Linked DNA regions of Homo sapiens: region 2 is linked to region 1. Evidence: promoter capture Hi-C in human tissues and cell types (Jung and others, 2019). All regions are on one chromosome and are shown on one strand. The core of a region is centred on a gene start or on the middle of the fragment in contact, and the rest is flanking DNA. Distances in the headings are between cores, read along the strand shown.

Region 1 (6,981 bases), core at 2,098-4,597:
TTGGGTATAACTTAGCCCCATCATTATTTAAAGAATAGAGGAAGAAGAAAGAGGAAGGATTTTAAAGGCAGACAATGACAGACCATTCAGGATAGGTAGGGTTTTAAAGGGAGATAAACACAATCTCATCGACTAAGGAGAGATTTGCTGTAGTAAATAGGATGAGGGAAATAGTCTGTGGGATGCAAGCAAAGGAAGCAGGGTGCCTTAGACATTGATTGGAGCCAGAAAGATCATGCGGCCTTTTTCCAAGTACATGGCCACCAAGTAGGAATGGTTGGTGACAAGACAGAAGGCTAAAAAAGGAAGGTAATCTTGTGCACCTGACAAATAGAAAGAATAAAGGATCAAAATCGAAGGCAGGCTACAATAGTATCAAGAAATTCTTAAAAACCAAAAAGTGATTTGGAAGCACAAAACTTATAGTTAATGCTATTGAGTCAGCCTCTCTTTACAGCCTTCTGTCACCCCAGGTCCTGCCCACCTCAGATCATGCTTGCATCCTGACTTTGGCCACAATCCTTCCCATCCAGAGACTCAGTTTCCTGCATCCACAGAGAGCAGGTTTGGGACTTTTCTCCTAGGAATCAAGGTAAGAGGCAGCCTCTTGTGACCCATGTCAAACATTTATTCTGCTTTCTGCATGGTCATGGAGTTCCCCAATCTGACTGTGCCACTTACAGACAGAAAGAAATCAAGAGATGTCACTATAGCAAGCCAGCAAGAGACCTTTGTCTCTGATGGTTCTTGATGGTACTTCTTGAGCTCCAGTGGTGCAGCTGTGCATCCCAGTCTGGCCCTCACCTGGTCCTCATGTGTGGCCCTTTTTACATCTCCAACCCATTGCCTCTGCTGTTCCTTTCCAGGGATGCTCTTCTTGCTTCTCTGCCTGGTAAGCTCCTACTGGTCCTTAAAAGTCCAGTCTCAAAATCACCTCCTCTGAGAGGCCTTCCTTGTCCCCACCCAGATGGAGATGGCTGCATCACCCAGGCACCCTCCTGGGACTTTTGCTCATGCATCTATTTATAGCACTCACATGGAGTTTTGTGATTCCTGAGCTGTTTATCGGGCTCCTGACTAATCCCCAAACTCCTTGTATGCGAGGGCCTGTCTGAGTCATCTGGCCGCCAAGGAGGTTGGCACGGGACTGGAGTCGCTTCACCCTGGTCTGTGGATGCTTTCCTCCTTCCTTTTTTCATTCCTCAAATATTTATCAGGCACCTACTATGTGCCTGGTTCTGGGCTATGCATTGGGAACACAGCAGGGAATGAGGCTCGGATGGTCTGGAGGGAGAGCTGTGTTAAAAACTGAGTCAGTAACAAAGACATCAGCAGCATAAGTGTTGTGCCTCAGTCTGGGGACCATGATGAGAAGGCCTCTTAGGGGTGTTCATTTAGGAAGCGGTCTGAGGGATGAGAGGGAACCAGCCCCAGGAGGCTTGAGTGGAAGAATGTTCTGGGCAGGAGCAGCAAGGGTGAAGCTGCTGCGGCAGGACCATCCCTGGCACATTTGAGGGGCAATACTGAGACTCTTGAACATCCCAAGAAGCAGAGTGCACAAGGCGGAGTGTGGCCTTGTGCAGAAGTCAAGGCTGTTGGCCAGTGCCTGAACCCAGAAAACTCGCTGGACTAGCCTTGCAGTTCTGGTAGAAAGGAAGCTGCTCCTGGATGCCCATTTTACAGACGGATAAGCACAGGTCACCAGGGATGATATGGCAAGGATGGAGGCAGCCCACAGTGTTTTCAAACTCACATTTCCTGGGCACCTAGTGAGTGCCAAGCCCTAGGCCAGGTGTTTCCACTCCTGAACTCATGAAACGCTTTCAGAGACCTTATTGTCCCCATGGGATAGGTAAACTGAGGCACAGAGCTGCTCAGTGACTTCTTTAAGGTCATCCAGCTAGTAAGTGGAGGAATTGGTATTGGAACCCATACCTATCTGAGCCCCAGACTCATGATTTTCCATCCCACTGCCTGGGAAGGGTGAACAGGAGACGCAGGAAGAGAATGGTGATGGCTGCAAGGCTTCCCTCTTATCTCCTGTGGCTCCCCACTCTGTGCATGGGGCCCTGCATCACCCCCACTTTACACCTGGGCAAGCAGAGGTCAGGCCCGGCCTCAAGCCTTTCTAGCAGGTGGTGGAATCTGCTTCCCTCACGTGAGGTCCCTGACAGGGTACACATGTCTGCCTGGAGGCCAGGGGCTGACCCCTTGACCTTTGCCTGGTACATTCTGCCTTCACTAGCCCTGGCTTTACATCCAGAGTCATCTGTTCCCAGCGCCAGATTGGTCAGCGGTTCCTGAAATCCCCCGAGGTTCCGTGTGGGAGCAGAGGGAGGACTGGCCCATCCAGCCATTATGCAGATGGGCAGACTGAGATCCTAGGAGGAGAGGAGAGAACGAAGGTCCAGGAGAGAGCCAGGATGGGGCCTCGGGGCTCGCGGGATAAAATGCACCGCATGCCGCCTCACTCCCTCTGAGACACGGTTTCCCCCTGTGTAGAACAGGGGCAGCAGTAACCAGCCACGAAAACTCCTCGTGCTGCCTCGTCACCGGGCATCGCTGAGCTCACCACCGACCCCGCGCCCTGGCCGGGCGCCTGGAGCGCGGGCGCGGGCGACGTTTGCTGGCGCCAGGCCCTCAGTGCGTGTTAGCGAGCAGCGCCGGGAGATAGCTGTCACCGCCGCCCGCTCACAGATGCGTAGACTGAGGCTCAGGTGTCACCACCTGACCAAGGCTAGTTCCGCTACAAAGCTGCCGACTCGGATCCGAACCCGGGTCCAATTTACAGAAAAGGAAACTGAGGCCCAGAGACACTAGGGAGCTTGCTAGGGTGAGGCAGCTGCAGGTTCAGAGAGCCAGGAGGCAGCCCAGCAGCGCACTTTTAACCCCCGCCCACTTCGGCAGGCCCAGCCGTGCCACCTTTAGGGATCTCGGGTTTTTTCCAGACGACGCACCCAGGAGAACGCGCCCGCGCATCGCACCCGCCGGGGCTGCGGGTCTGGGGGTGCCGGGCTGGGCCTGGGCGCCTGCAGGGAGCAGCGGGCTCAGTGGGTCCCGGGAGTGGGTGGGGCTTGCATGTTGACGGGCAGCGCGAGGGGCGCGGCTTTAGTCCAGGGGGCGGAGCCTGACCGGACCTGGGTTTTTCGGGCGGCTGGCGGACTTGACAGAGAGCGGGAGGGGCCCGGATCCTGGGCCTAAGGAGGGTGGGGCGTGTGCTTGACAGGCAGGGACAGGCCGGCGTCTGATAGGCAGAGGACGGGCCTTGGAAACGAAAGGACCAATCGGGCACGCAGGGGCGGGGCCTGAGTCAGCGCAGTTCGGCCGGGGTCTCCCCGGCGCTGCCCAGTCTGTCTCCGGCGCCGCCCGTCGCGGACTCGTCCTTGCTGCAGTCGCCGCCGCAGTCCTCGCCGCAGTCGCCGCCGCCGCCGCCGCCGCCGCCGCTGCTCCTCCGCCTGGCCTGGGCCGTCTGCCCGCAGCCATGAGCGTGCTCGGCCCCGGTGGAGCCCGCAGTCCTCTAGATTAGTCTCCACCGCCGTCCAGGACCCACTTGCAGCATGGAGTCGCCCGCCTCGAGCCAGCCCGCCAGCATGCCCCAGTCCAAAGGTAGGCGCTCCCGGCCGGGACCTCGGCCTGACCCCGCGCCTAATCTGGGGCCGGGCTGCAAACCCCGACCTTTCTTTGGTCCCACCCCATCCTGTTCTCGACCTGGCAGCGGCGTCCGGTCCCGGAACCCCTTCCTGTTCGGGGTCCCGGGACCAGCCCCCGCCTGGGCCCTCACCTGGACCCCCACGTTAGGCCTTGGGACTGCACTCAGGCCCGAGATCACCCAGGCTGGACCCAGACTAGGACTTTGTTCTGCTCACCCCATCCAAGTCAGGAGCCTCATTCTGACCTCATTTGGGCCTTATGGCTGCAGCCTGGACATGAACTCTCCCAGTCTTCTCCCTCAGCGGGACCCAGGTGAGATTCACACTGGCCTTCACCTGGGTCCTTGGGCAGCACCCAGTCCCATTTCTAGCTTCGGGTCCCAGGGCTGTATCCAGGTTGGGATTTAACTTGAGTCTCCATCTGGGCCCCAGAGTGCTCCTGTTGTTGCGGACCTCACTGTACCCCCTATGCGGGTGCTCTGGCTACACCCCAGCTCGGAACTCCCCGTCCTTCTCTCCCCCAGCTCTTCTTATCCTTATAGGCCCTATGTTGCCCCTTCCCTGGCTGGCCTGCACCCTGTCCTGCAGCCCTGGGCTCCCAGGAACCTTCCTTGTCCTCCCACCCCTCCCTAAGGTACAGCCCCCTCTCTACCGGCCTCTCTCTGTCTTGAGTTGCAAGCTTCTCCCTGCACTGGGGGTTCTCACCCCATCTTATTCTTGTCCTGGCTGCCTGGGATCTGGGCCAGCCGCCAGGCCAGGGTGCTGGCTGTGCAAGGGATTTGCTCTTCTCCAAGTAGCTGGCCTTCCTGGAAATTTTTGTGAGGTGGCAGCAGCAGGATTTGTCATGCGGAGGGGGAAGGATGAAACTCGGAGGGCAAAAGGGGAATTTTTTTTTTTTCAGGAAGAGGAAAGGATGTTTTTGGTGCGTCGGAGTTTCAGTAGGCTGGGTTGTGCGAGAGATTTCCAAACCGGACATAGCCGTAATGAATGGGCTGCCTCCTGGCTTTCTGAACCTGCAGCTGCTTCACCCCAGCAAGCTCCCTGGTGTCTCTGGGCCTCAGTTTCCTTTTCTGTAAATTGGAAGTAATCGCACCTGCTTCTGTGGACGTGGGAGTGTGGTGTGGGGTGGTGAATAGTAAAGAGCTCTGAGGCGTTCTCTCAGCGTAGCACCTGGCGCAGAGCCGGTGCTCACCAGGGTACACTGGCTGCACACATCTCGCTATTGTTTCCATTCTTCTTGCTGGAAAGGCCTCCACTGCTGGAAGTGCAGCCTCAGAGTGAGCAGGAGGAAGCACCTAGCAGCGGGCACCTAGTGGGCACTTCATCAGGGGTCAGCCGCTCTTCTGTTCTGGAGGGTGCAGGCCAATGGGAGCCCTATGTGGGCCTGGGGAGGGCATGGGCTCTTCCTGGCCCCTGCTGCTGGCTGCTATGGTGGCTGGAGCCGGGTGGGCTGGATAATTATGCCTTACATAAGTGGGAGGCCGGATCCCTGACCATTGCCCAACCACTGTGAGTAACTCGGGAGGCACTCGACGGGGGAGGTGTCTGGGGAGGGACTTGCACTGCACAGACCTCGTGGAGCTTGGGAACCAGGAAATCAGACACTTCTCCACTCTGGAGAGCTCGGGGAAGGGTAGGAAGCACTGTTTGTTTTGGAGGCTTTTTAGCTCTCCAGGCAGAGAATGCCTCATCAAAATAAAAGTTCCAGTTGCAGAGTTGTGAAAGGAGAGGGGTCATAGATGCAGTGAGAATGCTGTGAGAGGGCCAAAATGAACTTCTAGATGTGGACCCAGGTCCTAGATGAGGTTGAGGGGGCTGGATGGAGGGTCAGGGACCTCCCTCAGGCCCAGGGACTCTGTAGTCTCTTTGGGGTCTGGGGAAGGATGTGGTGGCAGAGCCACAATGCCCTTCACCAAAAACCCTATGAGCTCCTTCTTTTTTTCCATGTGCCATGCATTTTCTCATTTATTCCTCATAGCCCCATTTACTGATAAGGAAACTGAGGCGTTAAGTGCCTTGCCTGAGGCCACACAGCTGTGACAGGCGGAGCTAGGGTTCCCCCTAGGACTGTGTTTCCACAGTGGCCTTCCCCGTGCTCCCCTATGTGCCCCTCCCATGCTGGATGCCTGAGCTGAGCTGGTGGGGTGCCCCCACCCCTGGCCTTGCTCAGAGCATGTGCAGTGGGCCTGTCCTCATGGCCACGTCAGACCTAGAGGACAGACTGAGGCAGAGGTGATGCCTCTCCTGTGCACAGCGCTTTACACTGGGCCTGTTGCATTCTCGCTGCAAAATCCCACTCATTTGACAGATGCAGAACTCAGCTTGGATGGAGGAGTGGCCGGACTGCCCCCATAGGTGGAGAGCCTCACTCTGTGCCCACCCCATCCTGGGCACTGGGCCTCCCAGCACTGATCCCTTCTCCACCTTCTCAAAGGAATTTGAACAAAGCAGGGAGTGGCTGGCGCTTGACCTTACTGGAGCTTTACCTTTGAGCTTCCTGCCTGGCAGCAGGTGCCCTGCACTGTTTCCATGCCATGGGCCTGGGGAGTTTTCTATGAGTGTGTGAGGCCCTCAGGCCCACAGCTCTGCTGGTTTTCCCCTGGCCTCCTTGCCCACATGGCCATCTCTGGCTGGGGTTAGAGGCCAAGTGGCTGGCGCTGGGGCCAGTGGGTGGGGGCATGTGTGCAAGCCACATTTGTCCTTGGAGGGTACCACACGTGTCCTGTTGTCGTTCAGAACATGGGTTCTGCCCCTTCTGCCCTAAGAGTGCCACCTGTGGGAGCACTTCATGGCTAATCTTCACACAGCTTGGACTGTGGCTGTAGGACTCCTGACTGCCCGATGGTGACACTGAGGTTTCATAGAGCACTGTTGTATCCTAGCCCTGCCTGCTGTGGCCACCCCCCCAACCCCTGGCTGTCGGAAAGACTGGAGGTGGCACCTCGGGGACTTCCCCCACCCCTCTTGTGACGCACAGGAAACTCTCTGTCAGCCAACCCATGGCCCAGCGCCCAAAGGGAGCAAAGTTCTCAGTTGGCCCGTGTGAGGAGAAGGCCGGGGCAGCGGAGGCTTCCGGCGGTGAGTCAGCGGGCACTGGGTGCTGACTCACCCGCTGGGCATGCCAGCCGGCTGCCTACAGCTTAAAGGGGCGATGCCTGCCAGCCTGGTGGGTGGGGAGGGGGTTACGTGTCCTGCAGGTGGCACCTAGCCCTGAGCTGGGGCACTGGAGGTGGCCCCTTCCTGGGCCTCGGACTGGGCTGGGAACCCCTGGGCAGGCCCTCTGTGCCCCACCCAGGAACTTCCTCTATTAGGCAAGGGGCTCTGCTTCCTC
Region 2 (6,981 bases), core at 1,648-4,147, 45 kb before region 1:
CATCTACCCACTCACCCATCCACCCTTTAATCCATACACTCACTCATCTACCCATCCATCTATCCACCCACCCATCCACCCAGCCATTCACCCATCCACCCATCCATCCATCCACCCACCCACCATCCACCCACCTATCCACTAATTCACCCACCCACTCATCCATTCATTCATCCATTTACCCATCCATCCATCCACCCACCTATCCACACACCCATCCACTAGTTCACCCACCCACCCACCCAACAAATGTTTTGAGCACTAAATGTGTGCCAGGCACTGATCCAGATGCTGGGATTCTGCAATGAACAAAACAAACAAACTCCTGCTCTCATGCAGCTTGTATTCTAGCTGGGAGAGACAATGAATAATAAACCAGATAAAATAAATAAATCATACATTGTGTAAGAAAAAATCAATGGCTGGAAAAAAATGGGGCAGGGTAAGGGGATCAGAAGTGGAGGAGGCGGCAATTTAAATGTTAGGCAGGGGAGAACTGGGAAGGAAGGCCTCATCCAGAAGGTGATCATTGGGCACAGACCTGAAGGAGGTGAGGGACGGAGTCATGAGCATATCTAGGGGAAGAGTACTCTGGGCAGAGGGCATAGCCTCTGAGGTGGGAGCAGCTTTGCAGATACGAGGACCAGCAGGAGGCCCATGTGGCTGGGGTGGAGTGAGAAAGGAGAAGAGTAGTGGGAGATGAGGTCAGAGACCATGAGGCCTGGATCCCTTGGGGCCTGCAGGCTGTGCCCCTTGCAAAGCTCCCTCATCTTTCAGGCCCCAGCCCACATCTCCTTCTTCAAGAGAGCCTTGCAAGTTCTCCGCATTGGGACTGGGTGCGTCGCCTGCGTGTGCACCAATAGTCTGGTCACAAAGTTTCTTGCTACGTGTGTACTTTCTCATCCCCCTCCCCTGAACTCGGGTCCTGTGAAGATAGAGCCCCATCTGCCTGGGTCACCCTCACTGAGCACGGTGTGGATGACATATCTCCAAAGGGCAGTGGCTCCACCTGAACAGGATGCAGGTTCTCTCCTCATGGCTTGTTGGGAAGTTTAAATGAGACGACCTAGTCCAGGGCACCTAGTTGAACTTTTTGTCTTAGTTGGCAGATGAAACACCAATACATTTTTATGCTCTGGCTCTCCTTTCCTAGATTCCAGAATGGCCATGCAGAGGCTTATTCCTGCAGTCTCAGTGTCTTTCCACACCCAATGTATGACCCCATCAAGTTTCCTCTTGAATCAGGACAACTCTCAGGAACAAACCGCTCAAGGGGCCCCGTCTTTCAACTCCTGGGTTCCACCCTCTCCCTAATTCAGAAAATGATAGAATCTCACCCAGCCAGATCTCCCACCTGACTCCATGTTTAATGGCCTACAAGTGTCTCCCTCGACCCTCAGACAAGCTCTTCCCAAGACAAGGGACCTTTTACTTTTAGCACTCCAGTGCATGATGTGCTGGTATTAGTGATGGCAGATGAGCTGGTATTGCTAATAACCATTATCTCACCCGTCCACACATCCATCCACCCACTTACCCATCCACCCACTCATCTACCCCTCCATCTATCACCCAATCATCTACCCACTATCCATCCATTCTTGGTCTGCCTGGTTCTGGGGTCTGTCATCCTCTAGATGCTTTGCCTCAGCCTTGGTATCAATGAACTGGCATTTATGTCATATGCCACAGCCCCTGCAGGCAAGAATATTTCTCCTTGCCCTGATTGTCTGTTGGTTGCCAGCCCTTCCCTTCTCTGATCACAGAGAAGCTGGAAGCCTGCAAACTACATTTGCTAGAGCCCTTACCAGTGGGCTTCCAATTTGTTTCTGCTGGTAGGAAGCACTGATCAATCAGAAGGCAGTAAAGTTCCTGGATCTGGGGGTTTTTTTAGTGGTGGCAACAGCAGGCATGCACACCTGGGTCTTGTTCAGCCATCAACTTTCTACCAGGAGTACCCTAGCAGCCCTGTGATCCCCAGACGCTTCTGGGTGACACCTGTTCCTCCAGCCTCCATGTAAAAGCAGCTTCCTGCACTTACTTACCAATATTTTGGCAATCTCACCTCCACTCTCACTCCTCTCATCCTTCCAACAGTTTTCATAACCAGTCCCCTGCATTAAATCCACTCTGAAGTGCCTGGGCAATTTCCATTTTCCTGACTCTTCACTGACTGGTAATGTCCTTGGTAGCAGGAATGACTTCCTAGAAATAGAGCCTTAATGCTGGAAATCGGGGACTGGTTATCTGCCTGGATTGGGCTGGAACGCAGTAATGACCTCACTGTCAGAGGGGATGTGGTACCCTGGAAAGTCACAGCATTCAGTGGCAAAACTAGTCCTCACAATATCACCTATGTTAAGTGCCTGGCGTGAAGTGTCTCTTGAAGGCAAAGTTTGAGAGACCAAATGGCTGCAGCCCTTCATGTCATGGGGACAGCTGGAGAGACTGGTGGCTTCTGACTACACTGGAGTCAGAAGTGATAAACCCAGCTCAAAACATGGACAGAAAACCAGAGAGCATCTTTGATAACCAGAAAAGAATCTCTTTAATATCTTGTAGCCGTAAGACTGATACAACTGAAAACATAACCCTAAATTTGATTCTGCAGGTTGCAGTTACAACACAAGTTGAAGTCACAGCCTTGCCGGAACTCTTATGTAAAGTTTAGGGCATTGGATCTGGAAGGAGTGGGACCCTGAGAATCGTAAAGGGATATTTGGGTGGACTTGAGCAAATCCAAGAACCCTGAACTGAGGAAGAGCAGTGTGAGTACATGGTCAGGGGCTCCATGAATATTCCTGCCTGCAACCCCAGCTTCACAGGCAATTCAGCCTTCTCCACACTGGCCCGGCACTGGCTAGCTGCTCACCTTATGGCTCGAGGCAGGACCCCCCCGCAGCCTTGCAGCTGAGTGGGAAGTTGCTGGAAGTTGTATCTGTTTATTGCTTTTAAGGCTGTCATGAGCAGACATAAGACCTCATATCACACAAGCTTGATGCCACCAAGAGGACGGGAGCTGGGCTGGGTCCTGAGCCCTTCTAGCGGTGTGGCTTTGGCTTGTGACCCCCGACTCAGCCTCAGTATCATCTATCAAATAGGCCTAATAATGGGCATGTCCCGGGACTGCTGTGAAAACGAAGTGGAGTAAGATTGCAACGGGGCCTGGTGAGGTGGCTCACGCCTGTAATCCCAACACTTTGGGAGGCCGAGGTGGGCGGATCATTTGAGGTCAGGTGTTCAAGACCAGCCTGGCCAACATGGTGAAACCCCGTCTCTACTAAAAATACAAAAATTAGCCAGGCATGGTGGTGGGCACCTGTAATTCCAGCTACTCGGGAAGCTGAGGCAGGAGAATTGCTTGACCCGGGAGGTGGAGGTTGCAGTGAGCTGAGATCGCACCTCTGCACTCCAGCCTGGGCGACAGAGCAAGACTCCCATCTCAAAAAAAAGATTGCAACAGGCCTGGCAATTTATCTTTCATTCTGAGTAGCCATGTAACCCCTAGTGGTAACTAGGAGAAATTGTCCTCCAGCAGTCTGTCCCCTCCCTCAGTAGCTGGGGCGGAATGAGATATGGCCCTGGGCCTGGTGCAAGATTTTCACTTGTTTTGGAAGCATTAGCCACAGCTTTTCCTTGATGGGCATGTGTTATCATGAGGCTGGGCCTCACCTCCCTGCATTGGACCAGAAATTCTAAAGGAAGCAACTTCTTATGGCACAGCGGATCTCATGCATGGCATCACTGCCCCTTCCCTAGGAGACCGCACAAAGCCACTCAGCTTCATAGCTGGGCTGTGGCCTCAGAGGCTTTTGTGCCTGGAGGTGGCAGGGAACTGTGGTGTGGGGGCTGGGCCAGCCGGGAAGGTAGAGCCGCCCAGACTGGGGTCTGGGTTCCTGAAGTCACTGTTATCCTGCAGGGAGACCTCAGCCAAGCCCCAGTGACACGCAGGGTCTCGCTCTCCACGCTGAAGGCTGTGCTGAGGGCTGAGCAAAAAGAGGCCAGACACCAGGGAGGGAAGCCCGCCTCCCCCTCCCCACCTCGACCTCCACACCAGTTAAGGCTGACCGGCAGGTTGCTGTGGGGGAAGCGACAGCGTGCAGACAGCACTGCATGCCAGGCCACACCTTTTATGGAAATGTTCCTCTGAGACCTGTTGATGAGCTTGGAGAATGAGGAAGGGGACGGTCCAGCGGCCAGCTGGGTCCACACCCTGCCGCCGGCCCTGAGGAGGGAAGGCACGAGTCACTGCCTATTTTGACCCGGCAAGAAATACAAACCCACAGGGTGAGGCGGGCAGAAAAGCAGCTCTGTGGGAGACCTGCAGGCCCCTGAGCATCCCCTGCCCCAGTCAGGTTCTCGCCCAGGTGCATAAACCGGCCCCATGTGGCGGCATCCTTACCAAGGACCCCCAGGTGACCGGACAGGAGGGGTGAGGCTAGGCTGCCAGGCAGACAGGGTAGCACCAGATGGGATGGGCTGGGGGCTCCAGGGCACGGTGTCTGTGGCAACCCAACCTGGGAAGATGTTATTGCTCTGCTGGAGACCTTGGGCCAGGCCCCGCGAAGCCCTGCCTAGCCCCTTGGCGTGGGTTAGCGGTGCTTTAAGGCAGCCCGAGGCGAGGAGGCCAGGTCATACCTGCGGGAGCTTGATGAGGCCTCATGAGAAAGCCCTAGTCTCAGTTCCTGGGCCCGGGGCCTCTGCAGGCCTCCACCACCCCATGCTGCCTAGTTCAAGTATTTGTTGTGGGCTGGCCAGATCAAGAGTCACCTGCTAGAACACAGGGGTAGGAATCTTAGGTGGGAGTGGGAACAGAGTGGCACCAGGCCCATTCCCTCCTGGCTCTCAAGGTCCATGCTGGCCCTCAGGGGCTTCCTGTGGGGGACTCTTTGTGCTGTCACTGCAAGGGACCCTCCTGCGGATGGGCTGGAGGCCACAGGGACATGGCCCCAGCTCACTGAGCTCCTGAGTGGTCATGATTGACTATGTGCTTGAACTTGGGGAGGGACGTGTAGATGGGAAGGGGGTGACCTTAGGGAGGGTAAAAGAGGACCCTAGCTCTGCTGCCCTGGGACAGTAAGGGGAAGGCCCAGGCCTGGCTGCCCATCCTCTGTGCCTACAACCTGCTCTTTCCTTAAATTCTGCCAGCAATGGGCCACCCCTAGCCCCGGAGCAGCTCAGCCCACCTCCTGCCAGCTGCATCTCCCTGGAGGCCCAGGGCTTTCTCCGACCTCTCACACAAGCCCTTTGCAAAAGAGCTGACTTCCTGGAGGCCAGGGCAGGAGCATCTGCCACAGGTCAAGGGGCAGGGATGTCGGGGGTACTCAGGATGGTGACCCCTCCTGGTCCATGCTGTGACCCACAGCAGGGGTTTCGAGGAGACTCCGGGGCTCGGGGACCCCCATCGGCAGGCTGCCAGGCCTCCCTGCACATGCAGGTCTCCGTGGTCCTGCGTCCAGGCAGGAAGGCCCCTGGGCTGCTGTTGCTGGAGAAGGAATGTGGGGGGTCTCGGTGCCAAGACTGGGGATAGCAAGGAGGTGAGTGGGAAATGCAACCACAGGCCAGCCAGCGCCCGTGCATGGAGTCAAAGGGAGGAGTCAGCATGGTGACCACTGCCCCTGCACCGGGGGAGGAAGGCATGGGGGTCCTGGTGAACCTCTCCCTGTACTGCCCAGAGCCCAGCCTGACTCCCCCCGAAGCCGGGTAGGGATGCATCACTCCGACTAACAAATGTCTCAGCCCTAAAGGGCCCCTGGCTCCAGGTCACCCTCCAGCTCTACAGAAGGGCAGGGACGAATCTGATCCTTGTTAGCACTGACACAAGAGGGCGGGACCTGAGTCAGCCCCAGGGGAAGCCAGCATGCCCTGGAAAGGCTGGTCCCACCAAAGCATGCTAGTGTGTCTCCCAGGCTGCACCCAGGAAGGCTGGGTTGGGGAGGAGCCCAGGGCCAGATGGGCAGCAAAGTGTATCCGGCTGTAGCCAGCCACAAAAGAGGACACTGATGTCTGGCAGCAGCACAGAAACCCCTGTGGCTGATGTTTCTTCCTCTTGGATGCTGAGGGTGGTTTTTGGAGAATAGTCAGCTTCACTCCCACCCCAGCCCCAAGGCATCTCCTCGGAGAAGGCTCAGGCAGGTGGCCAAGGCCAGCAAGGGGCGGGCCTGCAGCTGCTCAGGCCCCCTTGGATCTCCTCCTGGCAGACAGGGGTATAGGGGATAGCAGCCCATGGGGATGGGGCCTTGGTTTCCTGCAGAACCTACACGAGAGGCCAAAAAAAAGATGGGGGTACCAAGGAGAGGAAAACACCCCCGGCACCCACCACCAGCCCGCCTGTAGACTGCATCCTGTGTGTTCACATGTGTGAACCGCACGTACGGTTGAGCCTGGCCAGTGCTCAGTCCTTCACTCTGCTGGTCTCTGTCAGGGAGAGCTGACCCTTTCCAGGGCCCTGCCTGCACTGGGCATGGGGGTCTGAGAAAGGGGCAGCACCGCTGGCAGGTGGGGTCTGGCACTGCCACCCTCAGAAGCTGGCACACGAGGTTTCTTATTGCTCCTCTTGGCTCTGGAGCACACCTTCTTAATTTCCAGAAAGGACACAGGCCCAGGAGAGGTGGCAGCAGGGGTCCCACACTGGCCCTCCTGCTGATCTCCAAGTGGAGCCCGGTGGGCAGGATGCAGGCTGGCTCTAGCCCCTACGTGTGACCCACAGGCCTCCCACGAAGCCGCTGGTCTCTGCAGAGTGAGAGGTGCCGGGACTACCTGGCCTCCTTGCCGCCTCGGTTACCGGGTCACCGCCCATCATTGGTCAGCTGCCTCCAGGGATCTGGACGTGGGGCACAGATGAGTGTCCTTACAAAAATAACTCTGAGTCTGTTCCCAGTGGGACCAGGTTCCTGAGAGCACGTGGGGCCAGGCAAAGGCCACGTGGAAGAGTCCGGCAGGGAGCGCTCCCGCCTGCAGGCCAGGGTTACGGCTGCAGGC

What was found. The method cuts DNA at HindIII sites, captures the fragments that hold promoters and counts their contacts. A contact is called where the count stands out against the background at its distance.
Region 2: a contact is called between a fragment that was not itself captured here and the fragment with the promoter of MAP2K3 in region 1, in 1 of the 25 tissues and cell types used here (spleen).

What each region holds. Positions count from the first base shown.
Region 1 is chr17:21,281,364-21,288,344 of GRCh38, forward strand. MAP2K3 (mitogen-activated protein kinase kinase 3) reads left to right here and starts at 3,348. Exons shown (of 12, transcript NM_145109.3): 1 at 3,348-3,606. The coding sequence starts at 3,558. RefSeq lists enhancers at 2,420-2,920, 4,997-5,056, 6,197-6,981, 6,268-6,863, 6,707-6,796 and a silencer at 2,807-3,336. The HindIII fragment of the contact is 7,420 bases long and covers 1-5,818 here.
Region 2 is chr17:21,236,346-21,243,326 of GRCh38, forward strand. NATD1 (N-acetyltransferase domain containing 1) reads right to left here. Exons shown (of 3, transcript NM_152914.3): 3 at 2,525-6,981. The coding sequence ends at 6,968. Among named protein-coding and RNA genes, the nearest start is that of NATD1, 14 kb to the right of the region's middle. RefSeq lists enhancers at 2,508-3,252, 3,998-4,742. The HindIII fragment of the contact is 8,520 bases long and covers 1-6,981 here.